Linked DNA regions of Homo sapiens: all the other regions are linked to region 4. Evidence: promoter capture Hi-C in 16 types of primary human blood cells and fetal thymus (Javierre and others, 2016). All regions are on one chromosome and are shown on one strand. The core of a region is centred on a gene start or on the middle of the fragment in contact, and the rest is flanking DNA. Distances in the headings are between cores, read along the strand shown.

Region 1 (2,967 bases), core at 22-2,521, 470 kb before region 4:
GCACTTATATCCAAACAAAAGTGCTTGCAAAATTAAAATTTTGTGTGAATGAGGCTGCTTATCATATTTTCTAGGAAAGCTGAACTTCTCTGATATTTCACTTTTTTGAAAGAGAAGAGTGTCATCAATTTTTATAATGTGGTAGGTTGATCTCTGCAGGTTTACCTTGATCCTTTGTCAACGTCCAAGTAAAAAGACAACCATCTCTATATAAATTTCCTAATTAACACAACAGCAGATGAGCTTTCTGTCCACTGGATTTCTATAACAATTATTTTGTTAATATTTCAGGTCATATTTTAATTATTGTCTCAGATTATGTTTCTTCATACAAACTACTTGGAAGAAAAGACTCTTGTAAATGGTTTAGTATCCTCACTCTACCCAGCATATCAGCAAGCGTTTTTCATACAGTATAAAAGCATATATATTAATTGCAGTTATACCAATAGTAATTATCAGGGGATGGCCTGTGTGGATAGGATTATGTTATAGCAATGAACTAATATGATTATATCAGACCTCCAGAGCAATTGCATCAATGCCTGTATTTTCTCACATTTTTGGAAGTGATCTCCTGCTCTAGCATCATCATAGGTAACAGCAAAAGTAATATTTATTGAGTTCTTGCTATATATCAAATACTGTATAAAACATTTACATGTATTATCTCTTGTAATCTTCCTAGCAATCCTATTAGGTAAAAAAACAAAAAAAAAAAAAAGAAAAAACTATTATCGTGATCCTTTCTCAGCCTTATAGTTGAAGAAATTGAGGCTTAAAAAGATTAAATAACTTGTTAAGGGCTTATAGCTTCTAAGTGTTGAAGCCAGAATTGGAATTTATGCATTTTGTATTTGCAGTCCAGATGCATAGCTGCTTCTCAATGATACAAATTCACTACTTCTTCATCCTCTTGAAGACCCTCTTGCAACTCCAGCATCGAAGAGATATAATAACTAATTGTAAGCCCAACTCTAATAAACATTAAGAATAAATAGTATTGCCCAAACTATTTGACCTGTCTTTAAATATAAAAGCCAAAGCTTTATTATGTTTAATCAATTATTTATTCTTTATCCCTACTTTGTAACAAGCATTAGTTACATGGTATGTCAGAAAATAAATACTATACAGAAAAATAAAGAAGGATGAAGGAAAGAAAAGTGGGAAGTAAATGTGATGCAATTTTGAATAAGTTGATCAAGGATGTATCTCATATTTAAGCAAAGACCTAAAAAAAGAGATGTTGAAATCTGTATTCTTATTCATGTGATTCATTGAACCTTTAGTTATTAAATATTTAATATATGCATATTGCTGTATTAAGCTCTGGAAATACCATGATTAACAAACACCAATATTATCAGAGATCATATAAGTTATCAAAATCCATTTAATAGTTATAAATAATTGTCAAATTAAAACTCTGACAAGTTTTTTGAAGGGAAAGCACGATGACTATGATGATTTGTGACAGATCTTGATTAAGCTTTTGGCAAAGTGGGAAGAGGGAAAGCAGGAACAGGTGTTCTATAGTTTGAGGAAAGCTACTCTGAGGAAAAGGTGTCTGAGTGGAGATCTGAAGATGAGCAGAACAAAATTAAGCAAAGAGGAGTGTAGGAGGCATGCATAGCACACAAAGGTCAAGAATATCCTGGTGAAGGAACAAACTGTTGGGCAAAAAGCCTGCTCAAGGGGCAGTATGACTTAGTTGAAAGACCACATGGTTGTTATAAAAGTCCATGTGGCTGAAACCAGAGGCTGGGGTAGAGTGGGTATTATAACTTACAAGAGGCGGGTAATCACCGAGGTAGGCAGGGCTACTAACTTATTACCACCTTATTATGTGATACATTTCCACTTCCAAAAGTATTTTCTCATCGTATTCTCACATTTTTCATAGGTGCAGAGAGAAAGAAATGCCATAATAAAACAATTTATTAGGAGTTCAAGTTATTGCCCAAATCTTACAACAAATATGACAGGATTGAATTCCAGACTCAGGCATTTTATCTTAGGTCAAGCTAAAGATTGTTTTGATTGAATATCTTGTAGTTTTTTTCTCTTGATCATGGGCAATCATAGTTTATTGTTAATCTAAAACTAAACAACAGATATATAAAGTAGCTTGGTTTTTAGTTTGAACTGATAAATAAGATATTTTTATCCTGGTCTTTTTGACTAGCCCTTCTAACTTCATGATAAGTATTAAGGAGTAGAACCTGTAGCACATATTCATATGTTCAATAAAATTCCTTTGAATATCAATTTTTAAAAATTTATTTCAACTTATTTTGTTGATTTTGCAACAGTTTATATTGTTTTATATGTTCTAAGAACCCAAGAAACATAATTCTTTATGGCCTGTAATTCTGAATCTGTCCCTGTATAATGACTTATGTACATGTGGCATTGACATTGTCCCAAATTACATTAAAAAATTGTTAATTTATGAAATTTCTTTAAGAAGTCACAAAAGCATCTTGAGATATTTTATAAAAGGATATACAGGCATATCTAATTGTTTTGCATGTTATTGTGCTTTGCAATATTGTGTTTATACAAATTGAAGGTTTGCATCAACCTTGTATCAAGACATTCTATTATTGTAATTTTCCTAAGAGTATATGCTCATTTTATGTTTCTCTATCACATTTTGGTAATTCAAGGAATAGTTTTGAGTTTTGTGTCTTATTACTTAAGAAATTCATTTTGTAAGACTATAGCTGCCATAGATAATGATTCCTCTGATGAATTTGGACAAAGTTAATTTGAAACCTTCTGGAAAGGATTCATCATTCTAAATGCCACTAAGAACATGCATAATTCGTGGGAAGAGATCAAAATATAAACACTAGTAGAAGTTAAAAAGAAGTTAATTCCAATCCTCCTGAATGAGTTTGGAAGATCGAGATTTCAGTGGAGAAATTTACTGCCAATATGGTGGAAATAGGAAGAAGTAGG
Region 2 (2,998 bases), core at 291-2,790, 290 kb before region 4:
TTTTTCTCAGCTTGAAACACTTTCTTTAGCATTTTTTTTTTTTTTTGTAGAACAGGTATCACCATACCTGTTCTACAACTTCATATTTTGTATGCTTAGGAAAATCTTTCTCTCTCTCACACACATCTTATGGATGGTTTTTTAGGTACAGTATTTTTGGTTGACAGTCTTTTTCCTTCAGCACTTTAAATATATTATTCAACTATCTCCTGCCCTGGAAGGTTTCTTCTTAGAAGTTATTTGCTTAGCTTTGGAACTCCTTTATATGTTATTTGCTGTTTTGTTTTTGTTATTGTTGTTACATTTAGGACCTTCTTTTTTCCTTTAATCTTTGATAGTGTTAATGTCTTGAGTTAATCTTATTAGAATTGAATATGATTGGAGATTTTGACCTTCCTGCACATGGATATTTATATCTTTCTCTAGGCTTGGAAAGTTTTATTCTATTATTTCATTAAATAAACTTCTTATCATTTTATCTTCATCTATTCTGTTTTGAAGGTCAATGACTGGTAATTTGCCCTTTTGATGCTGTCTTATCAATCACATAAGCTTTCTTTATGACTTTTCATTATGTTTTTCCTCTAACTTTATATTTTCAAATAACCTGTCTTTGAGTTCACAGATCCTTTATTATCTTTGATCAGTTATGCTGTTGATGCTCTCTATGGTGTTTTTTTCTTTGTTCATTGTGTTTTTATTTCCAGAATTTCTATTTGATTTTTAAAATTGTTTAAATCTTTCTGTTAAATTTATCTGATACATTTTAAAATTGTTTTTCTGAATTTTTTGGAAGTTCACTGAGATTTAACACACCTATTTTGAATTTTTGTCAGGCAGTTTAGACATCTCCATCTTTTTAAGGTTAGTCACTAGCACTTTATTTTGTCCATTTGGTGAAATGTTTTCCTGATTTTTCTTGATCCTTATGGTCATGTGTCAATGTGTATACATTGAAAAATTAGGTACTTGCTTTAACCTTTGTAGTTTGACTTTGTCTGGGACTGTTCTTCAACAGTAAATCTGTCCAGAAATTCTGTGCAAACTAACTGGTATGGTCTCTAAATCCATGGCCACTGAAGCTCTTGTAGCACTAGAAAGCACCCTAAGCCTAGAATTGCTTCAACTTGTGTAGCCTGCGCTAGAGTCATGTGGCCACAAAGGTTGGTGCAGCCTTGGACTGAAATTCAATGGCCACTTGGAGCTTATGCAGTTCTGGAACACACCCAAAGCCCCTGGATTTTAAAGTTAGCTTGCTGTTGACGTTTATTCAGAATTTAAGGCCATTGCAGTCAGGCATTGGTGATGTGGGCCAAAAAGCAATCTTTCTTACACAGGTTATTGGCACCCATTTGGTACTGGGGTGGGTCTAATGACTCAGTCCTTAGGTACTATCCTGGATGTAGAGACCGTGGAGGCTTCCCAGTGCTGAATTTTCCTGTGGCAAGCCCAGTGTTGGGGCCCAAGGCAAGTTCCTACACATACTTTCCTCTTTTTTTTCCCACACAGAAAGTATCTCTTTTCATGCTGTGCTGGCCAGAGGTGAGAGAGGGATAACATGACTAATGTGAAACTATCCTTTTTACTCCATTTCATGTGTCTATTTATATTTTTAGGCTATAACCAGGTGCTGTGACCTAGAGTAGAAAGAAGGAAGTTCCCCTCCTCTTCAAAAAGCTCCCAGCATATTGCTTTTATGCTCTCATATATGAAAAGCCAATTTAAAAAAATCAGAAACAAGGCTACTCACTTTCTCCCATCAAGACACTTTCTACCTTCTTTTTCTTTCTGCATTTCTATCATGTTCAAATCTTCTGTACCTGACAAATAAAGTTTTTCTTTATTCTAGACCTTTTCTTATTTACTTCCAACATAAGAATTGACAAGTTTTATTCTTTACTATTGTAGGTGTGTTCAAGATGACTCATTATGACAAAGGTATTCTTGCTGATGTGAGGTTATTGGAATGGATGTGTTCAGGATTGGTGATGTTACTTACATTGACCCCATATACATTTATAACTTAGAAGGCATCTTCAGTGTTTTATCTCAAATAATAAACTAAGGAAATGGTGCTCAAACTTTAGTATGCATCAGAATGATCTGAAGAATATACTGATTTCTGGGCTGTAACCCTAGAAGTTCTGATTCAGTTAGTCTGGGGTGGACCCCAGGTTTTTGCATCTTCCCAGTGATGCTGATGGTGCTGGTTGTCAACCACAGGGAGCATCACTGATAAGGATTATCACATTCTCAGTTTGATGACATAAGTATAAATATATGTGGGCAGCATTTTTATACTTTTTAAGTAATGGCTGTTGACTTCAACTTGCATCATCACAGTTTAGAGGAGAGAAAAATTAATACATGTTACAGACTATTTTCCTGTTGAGAGCACAGGTTACTGAAAAACCAGAATTCACTCAGTAATCACCTTAAGCTGAAACTCTAAGGTTAGAATGTGTTTTAATGGCTTAAAATATATAGCACCTCCATAAAATTTCAGATTATTTTCTTGGGAAGCTTTTGGAAATTTTGAAGCACACAGACATTTAACAATTGCAGAAAAATCTAATGTTTCAATAGAAGCCCATTTTAGAAATGCTTGACAATGTATAAGCATATATGTTTTAAATGTGTTTGTCCCAGAGTCCACCAGCTTCTTGACATAGATTTGAGTCATAAAGATGTATTATTTCTGTGATAATGTGTTCCACATTTAAGTACACTAGTCTTAATTATAATTAGTAGATTTTACTGTTTTCTAACAACAAAGAAGCTAAAGAACATCTAGGTATCAAAATACCCTCCCAATCATGGGAGCAGAGCTGCAGCCATTTGGTAATTACATGGCTACCTTAAGGAAAATAAAGTGCTTGGATACAACCCATCTTAAAATGCAGAGTGTGCCTCTTGGTAGCAGGACACATTGAACAACACTTCGGAGAACAGAGTTTTACGTTAATTGGATGTGGAGGCCTGCAAGATAAAGCAAATA
Region 3 (2,919 bases), core at 255-2,754, 430 kb before region 4:
TTATTTCATTGTTGCTTTTCTTTTTATTGATCTTTCATTTTGTTCATTCATCATTTTATTGACTTTCTTCACATCATTTTTTTAGCTCTTTGAGCATCTTTAAGATAACTGTTTTAAAGTCTTTGTCTATATTTGCCATCTGGCCTTTCTCAGGGACAGTTATGTTAGCTTACTTTTTTCCTTTAAAAGGACCATATTTCCCTATCTCTTTTTATTCATTGTGATTTTGTTGTTATTGAAAACTTGACATGTGAATGTAATAATGTGGCAGCTATGGAAGTCACATTCTTCTTTTTTATCAGGGTTTGCTGTTTTACGCTTTTGTTTTGATTTAATTTTTGTAGGCTGTCTTCATGCTGAGGGTCAGGCTGAGTTGTGAACTTAGTTCTTATTTTTTTTTCTGAGCCTGCATCTTTCCCTGGTCACACACAGTGAGTTTCTAATTTCTCCAATGCATGTTGTTGCTTTTGAATATTGTGGTATTTAATGTAGAGCTTCACAAAAGGAGAAAAAGAGAAAAATAAAGCGGGGAAGGGTACTAGCCATTTAAATGCCCTGAAATCCACTTCCATTGGATGGGTAGTGGCTTGCAATAATGTGGGTATGCAACAGTGTCTACTCTCTTTTGTTTCTGTACTTCCATGATTATAAATGCCATCATTTATCAGACTACAGATCCAGATATTGGAGGACAGGGTGTTTATTACCCACCCTGGTTTCTGCAATCTTCATGCAAGCTGCATCAGGAATATGTGCCTGCCTTTGGACTGGGGTAAGGAATGGGTAGCTGCTGCTGAGCTGAAAGCTGAAATTGACTGAAAGTACTGCAATTTACCAACCAAGCCTTCCTCTCAAAGTGGCAAGCTTCCAACTGACTAAAAAGTTTATCGAAATAGTCACATCGAATTCTTCCAGTACGACTGTTGTTTTAGAGGGGAGATGGATTCCAAGTGCTCTCTACTCTGTCATCTTCCCAGACTCCACATTTTTTTAACTCAGCTTTTAAGCATATTAAATGGAGATAATGACATATACTTTGTCTTCACAGGATTAATATAAGGATGAAATGAAGTAATGTGTATAGAACATACAAGATATATAATGAAGAGTGATATATCCATATGATATTACTGGTAGTATGTTCAGTGTAGTAGATAGGATCATTTACATGTATTCACTACCCTATTGACATTAGGCTTGACTATGTTCCTTGCTTGAACCAATAAATTATGAATGAAAGAGGCAAGAGGCTGTCAATCTTGTTAGAAACTTTAAGAGCCCATATGTGTTTCTATGTTCTGTTTCTTTATGCCATCATGACCATTAATGCTTAAAAGCTGGGCTGAATGCTTCGGTCTCATAGTGAAGTAGAGTCATGGCCAATCTGTTACAGACTTGTCACATGTGCCAGAAACCAGCCTTTGTTACCGTAAGTCAAGAAGATTTGGGAGCTTATGTTATCACAAAATGGCCTAGTCTATCCTAACTGACACATGTTCTCTTTGCTTTGACTATTTCTTATGCTGTCTGACACAGAGTTTTTGTCATTCTACCTCTGCCACACAAGAGGTTTTTTTTTTTTTATCTTAACTGGATTCCAAAGGTTTCAATTACAATGTGGAGTTAAGAATACCTTATTTGGCTTACTTAAGAGCATGTTGGCTGATGAGCACATTGAATCCATGAAATATCCCCAGTTAGAATGAACCTGATTCTTTGTAAATAAGAAATTCTGGATATTTCCTTGTAGCTGAATAGGAGACAAAATAAGTAAATCCAATTTATGAACATTCAGACTAGTATAGGAAATCTGTCAATGTGTGATAGAATTCAACAGAATTAGGCTTTGAAATTAAATCTTTCTTTTTAATAAACTAAAGAATGTTGGAAGCTAAAATTGAGTTTTTAGGTGATAAGAATAATTACTCTTTGCAGACAGAAAAATGAGTTTGTTGAAACAAGTATATTCTTTAGAAAAATTTGGTAGAAGAGATGTTAATAATAAAAGAAAAATACTGATGAATAACATTAATTGAGCATTTAGAATATGTCTAGATTTGCCTTTCATTATATAATTGAATTGTCTCTGCAAACATTGAGTTAAATAGTTTTAAAATTTAATTTTATAAATTAATCCAAGCTTAGAAAAGTTATGGAAGTTGCCTTAGTTTCCATAGCTAGCAAATAGAAGATTGAGAATATGTGCGCATGGCTATCTAACTTCAAAGGCAAGCTCTCCTTTATTTACTTGTTATATTTACTGTCTCTCTAATGTAGAACAGTAAATTAGTCTGAATATTAGTACATTTTATAGGGAGGATCTGAGAGGCTGGATTAGTTTATGAAAGCTTGCCTTGAGAAAAGCTTATTAGAGTTAATCTAAACCTTGCATTTTTTTTAAAGGTCTTTGTCTGCTGCATACATGTTTAAAAAGTTACTTCATCTAGTGGGACAAAAAGGAAGTCCATCATTAAATGCTGTATTTCATGTGACGTCTTACATAATTCACATGTATTATATAATAACATCACTTTAGAAAAAAGATATAGCTATAAAATATAGATATATAGATAAAACCTGCCCTAATAACTTATTCCTCCCTGCCAAATACACTCTTTGCATAGATGAAAGAATGTCATATAATCCCTTTTCAATTTTGCTACATTCCATTTCAAAATATTTTGGTATCTAAAGTATGTTATCCCAAGTCACTCAAATGAAAATATTAGCTTACACTTTAATTTCTGTATGTTTTGTTCTCTGCTCTAACTTTGATACTTTGAATACTGTCTCACATATAGTAGTGTCTGGCATAAATATTTGTTGAGTGAATGAATACATGAATGAGCTATGACAGTCAATTCAGCTTGCAGTGCTACCTCAAACACATGATTCATAGCCCATTTACATATGCTGACA
Region 4 (2,739 bases), core at 239-2,738:
TACAATAACTGTTTTAATGTCCTTGCCTGTTGATTCTAACATTACTTCAGTTCTGATCAGCAATTGATTTTTCTCCTCATTATGTGTTTTTTTTTTTCTTTTTGCAAGCTTGGTAATTTTTCTTTGTATGACATATGTAAATTGCACCTTTGGTGAACATTTTTCTATTTCTATAAATACTGCTGAAGTTTGGTCTTGTCATCTGTCATGGTTTGTTAAGTTTGATCCATTTGGGTCTTACTTTTAAGAGTTAGATGGCACTACAGCACTGATCAGCTAGGACTAATTACTGCCTACTAAATAATTAGTAAACAACTATCAAATCAAGACTTTTTTGTGTGTACTCTGTCCAGTGTCCTACGGACTATGAAGTTTTCCAGCCTGGTTAGTGGAAATAGAGACTATTTCTGACCCTCTGTAATGTCCATATATATATATTTATATATATATATATATGTATTTTTTTTTTTTTGTGAGACGGAGTCTCGCACTGTCACCAGGGCTGTAGTGCTGTGGCGCAATTTCGGCTAACTGCAACCTCAGCCTCCCTGGTTCAAGCAATTCTCCTGCCTCAGCCTCCCGAATAGCTGGGATTACAAGCGCCCACCACCACGCCCAACTAATTTTTTTTGTACTTTTAGTAGAGACGGGGGTTTCACCATGTTGGCCAGGCTGGTCTCAAACTCCTGACCTCGTAATTCACCTGCCTCAGACTCACAAAGTGCTGGGATTACAGACGTGAGCCACCGCGACCGGCCATGTCCTGGTATCTTTAAAAATCTTTTAGCTAGTTTCTTGAGACACATACTGCTCAGTACTCAGCTGAATGAATACCAAGTTCTCTCTCAGCAGTTATCTTTCTCCTGTACTCTGCAAAGAACATTACCTACCTTGGTCTCCCCAGAATATCTGTTCTATTTTGCCAACGCAGGCAATCGGCTGGGCTCTGCTTGAGTTCACTCTCCTGCATCGCATCTATAAAATACTAATATCTTTGAAAGCAGCTCGCTTTTTGAGCGCAGATCATTTGCTTCCTGTATCTCCCGGATCACTATTCTTTACTGATTCCCAGCGTCTTAGAAACAGCCCCACTGTTTTTCGGGGTTTTGTTTTTTTTTTTCTACAGCAGTAGTGAATATTTTAAATAAAGTGTCAATGCTGTAAGTTTCCCTTAAAACGCAAACTCAAGGAAATGCTTTCCCTTTTTCGAGTAGAGAAAGAACTTCCACAGGCGCGCGGTCGAGCTCAAGCCCACTTATAGTCTCTGGCACCGCGTAAGGACTAGCGCGCAGGCGCAGAGCCCGTGCGCGCCTAGCCATAACCGCGCTTGCGCCAAGCAGCGAGGCCCGCCAACGAGCGAATCCGCGCCTGCCAATTAGAGCGCACAATGGTCCTTGATGCCCGCCCACTAACCTCTGCAGCCAATCGCCTGCCCCGGCGCGAAGTCGACTGTGACTTCAAAGTAATCTTAGGGATTGTGGGAAGGCAGCTGAACTCGGCGCCTGGAAAGATGGAGGCAGCGGAGACAGAGGCGGAAGCTGCAGCCCTAGAGTAAGTGTTTGCGGCTAAGTGGCAGCTGGGGCCGGGCCTGGGAGGACCTTGTGGGCCCCTATGTGTAATGATTGGTGCCCTCGACCCTGTACAGCTGTTGAGGTTCGACCCTGCCGTGAAGTGATCCTCACCGCAGTCCCGTCTTAGGTTCCTGAGGTGTCTGTTGCCTGCTCCAGGAGTACAGCCTTTGGGGGACCGTTCGCCGCTCCCCACATCCACATAATCCACAGGATGTGCTCTAGGAGACGGTTTCACTTCTGTCTTCTTGTCCCAACACGACACATTCCCAGTCACTTCTCATCCCCATCCCTGCCCCTTCGTAGATTGCTCCAGTCCCTAATAATGAAAAACCCTAGAGTAGACCGAGGCATCCAGCCCTCTGCCCTGAGTCCTTTCTCAGCTATTCCAAGACTCTGCCCCAAGGCTGGTGCTCAGCGCCAGGAGGGATCCCAAGGCCCAGCATTCTTCCCCTTCCTTGCATATCTCCCTGGCTTCCTTCACATCTTGACTCAAATGATTTCTCTTCAGTGAGACACTCCCTATTTAAAATTTCAGCTCTTTTCTCAAACTCCTTATCCACTAGCCCTGCTGATTTTCCTTTTGGCACGTATTACCACCGTGTGCCCTCCATGCACGCCATTCCTGGTTGCAGGCTGTGGACCCTTCAGGCCCTTGTGTAAACTCTGGTCAAGGCAAGACTCTCAATACTATATATACTGATATACACATCCACATTTGTTTGTGTACACACACGAACTGTAGAACTAGCACCACAAGAAACTGCAATTTCCTGTGTTTCCTTGCCCCTCCAGGGTCCTGGCTGAGGTGGCAGGCATCTTGGAACCTGTAGGCCTGCAGGAGGAGGCAGAACTGCCAGCCAAGATCCTGGTTGAGTTTGTGGTGGTATGTACAAGATGAGAGCGAGCCTTTCAGAAGCCAGGGTCTGGTCCTGGCTCCTCTTACTGAGATACAGGGCAGCACTGGCAGAGAGCAGACTTAAGGAAACCTGTAAGGAGGTAAGGATGTTCCCTGTCTCTGCCCTCCCTCTGAGCAGGACTCTCAGAAGAAAGACAAGCTGCTCTGCAGCCAGCTTCAGGTAGCGGATTTCCTGCAGAACATCCTGGCTCAGGAGGACACTGCTAAGGGTCTCGACCCCTTGGCTTCTGAAGACACGAGCCGTGAGTAGGC

Evidence for each region. The method cuts DNA at HindIII sites, captures the fragments that hold promoters and counts their contacts. A CHiCAGO score of 5 or more calls a contact.
Region 1: a fragment that was not itself captured here is called in contact with the fragment with the promoter of ZWINT in region 4 in 1 of 17 cell types (total B cells); the score reaches 5.6 in total B cells.
Region 2: a fragment that was not itself captured here is called in contact with the fragment with the promoter of ZWINT in region 4 in 1 of 17 cell types (total B cells); the score reaches 5.1 in total B cells.
Region 3: a fragment that was not itself captured here is called in contact with the fragment with the promoter of ZWINT in region 4 in 1 of 17 cell types (total B cells); the score reaches 5.1 in total B cells.

What each region holds. Positions count from the first base shown.
Region 1 is chr10:56,830,653-56,833,619 of GRCh38, reverse strand. No RefSeq gene overlaps it. Among named protein-coding and RNA genes, the nearest start is that of ZWINT, 470 kb to the right of the region's middle. The HindIII fragment of the contact is 446 bases long and covers 1,049-1,494 here.
Region 2 is chr10:56,652,090-56,655,087 of GRCh38, reverse strand. No RefSeq gene overlaps it. Among named protein-coding and RNA genes, the nearest start is that of ZWINT, 290 kb to the right of the region's middle. The HindIII fragment of the contact is 1,971 bases long and covers 555-2,525 here.
Region 3 is chr10:56,790,199-56,793,117 of GRCh38, reverse strand. No RefSeq gene overlaps it. Among named protein-coding and RNA genes, the nearest start is that of ZWINT, 430 kb to the right of the region's middle. The HindIII fragment of the contact is 1,276 bases long and covers 867-2,142 here.
Region 4 is chr10:56,360,008-56,362,746 of GRCh38, reverse strand. It overlaps ZWINT (ZW10 interacting kinetochore protein), which reads left to right and starts at 1,488. Exons shown (of 9, transcript NM_007057.4): 1 at 1,488-1,551; 2 at 2,364-2,454; 3 at 2,606-2,729. The coding sequence starts at 1,511. LOC124902546 (a long non-coding RNA gene) reads right to left here and starts at 1,288. Exons shown (of 2, transcript XR_007062372.1): 1 at 891-1,288. RefSeq lists a silencer at 1,221-1,430 and enhancers at 1,521-1,690, 1,039-1,778, 2,518-2,739, 2,404-2,739. The HindIII fragment of the contact is 11,189 bases long and covers 111-2,739 here.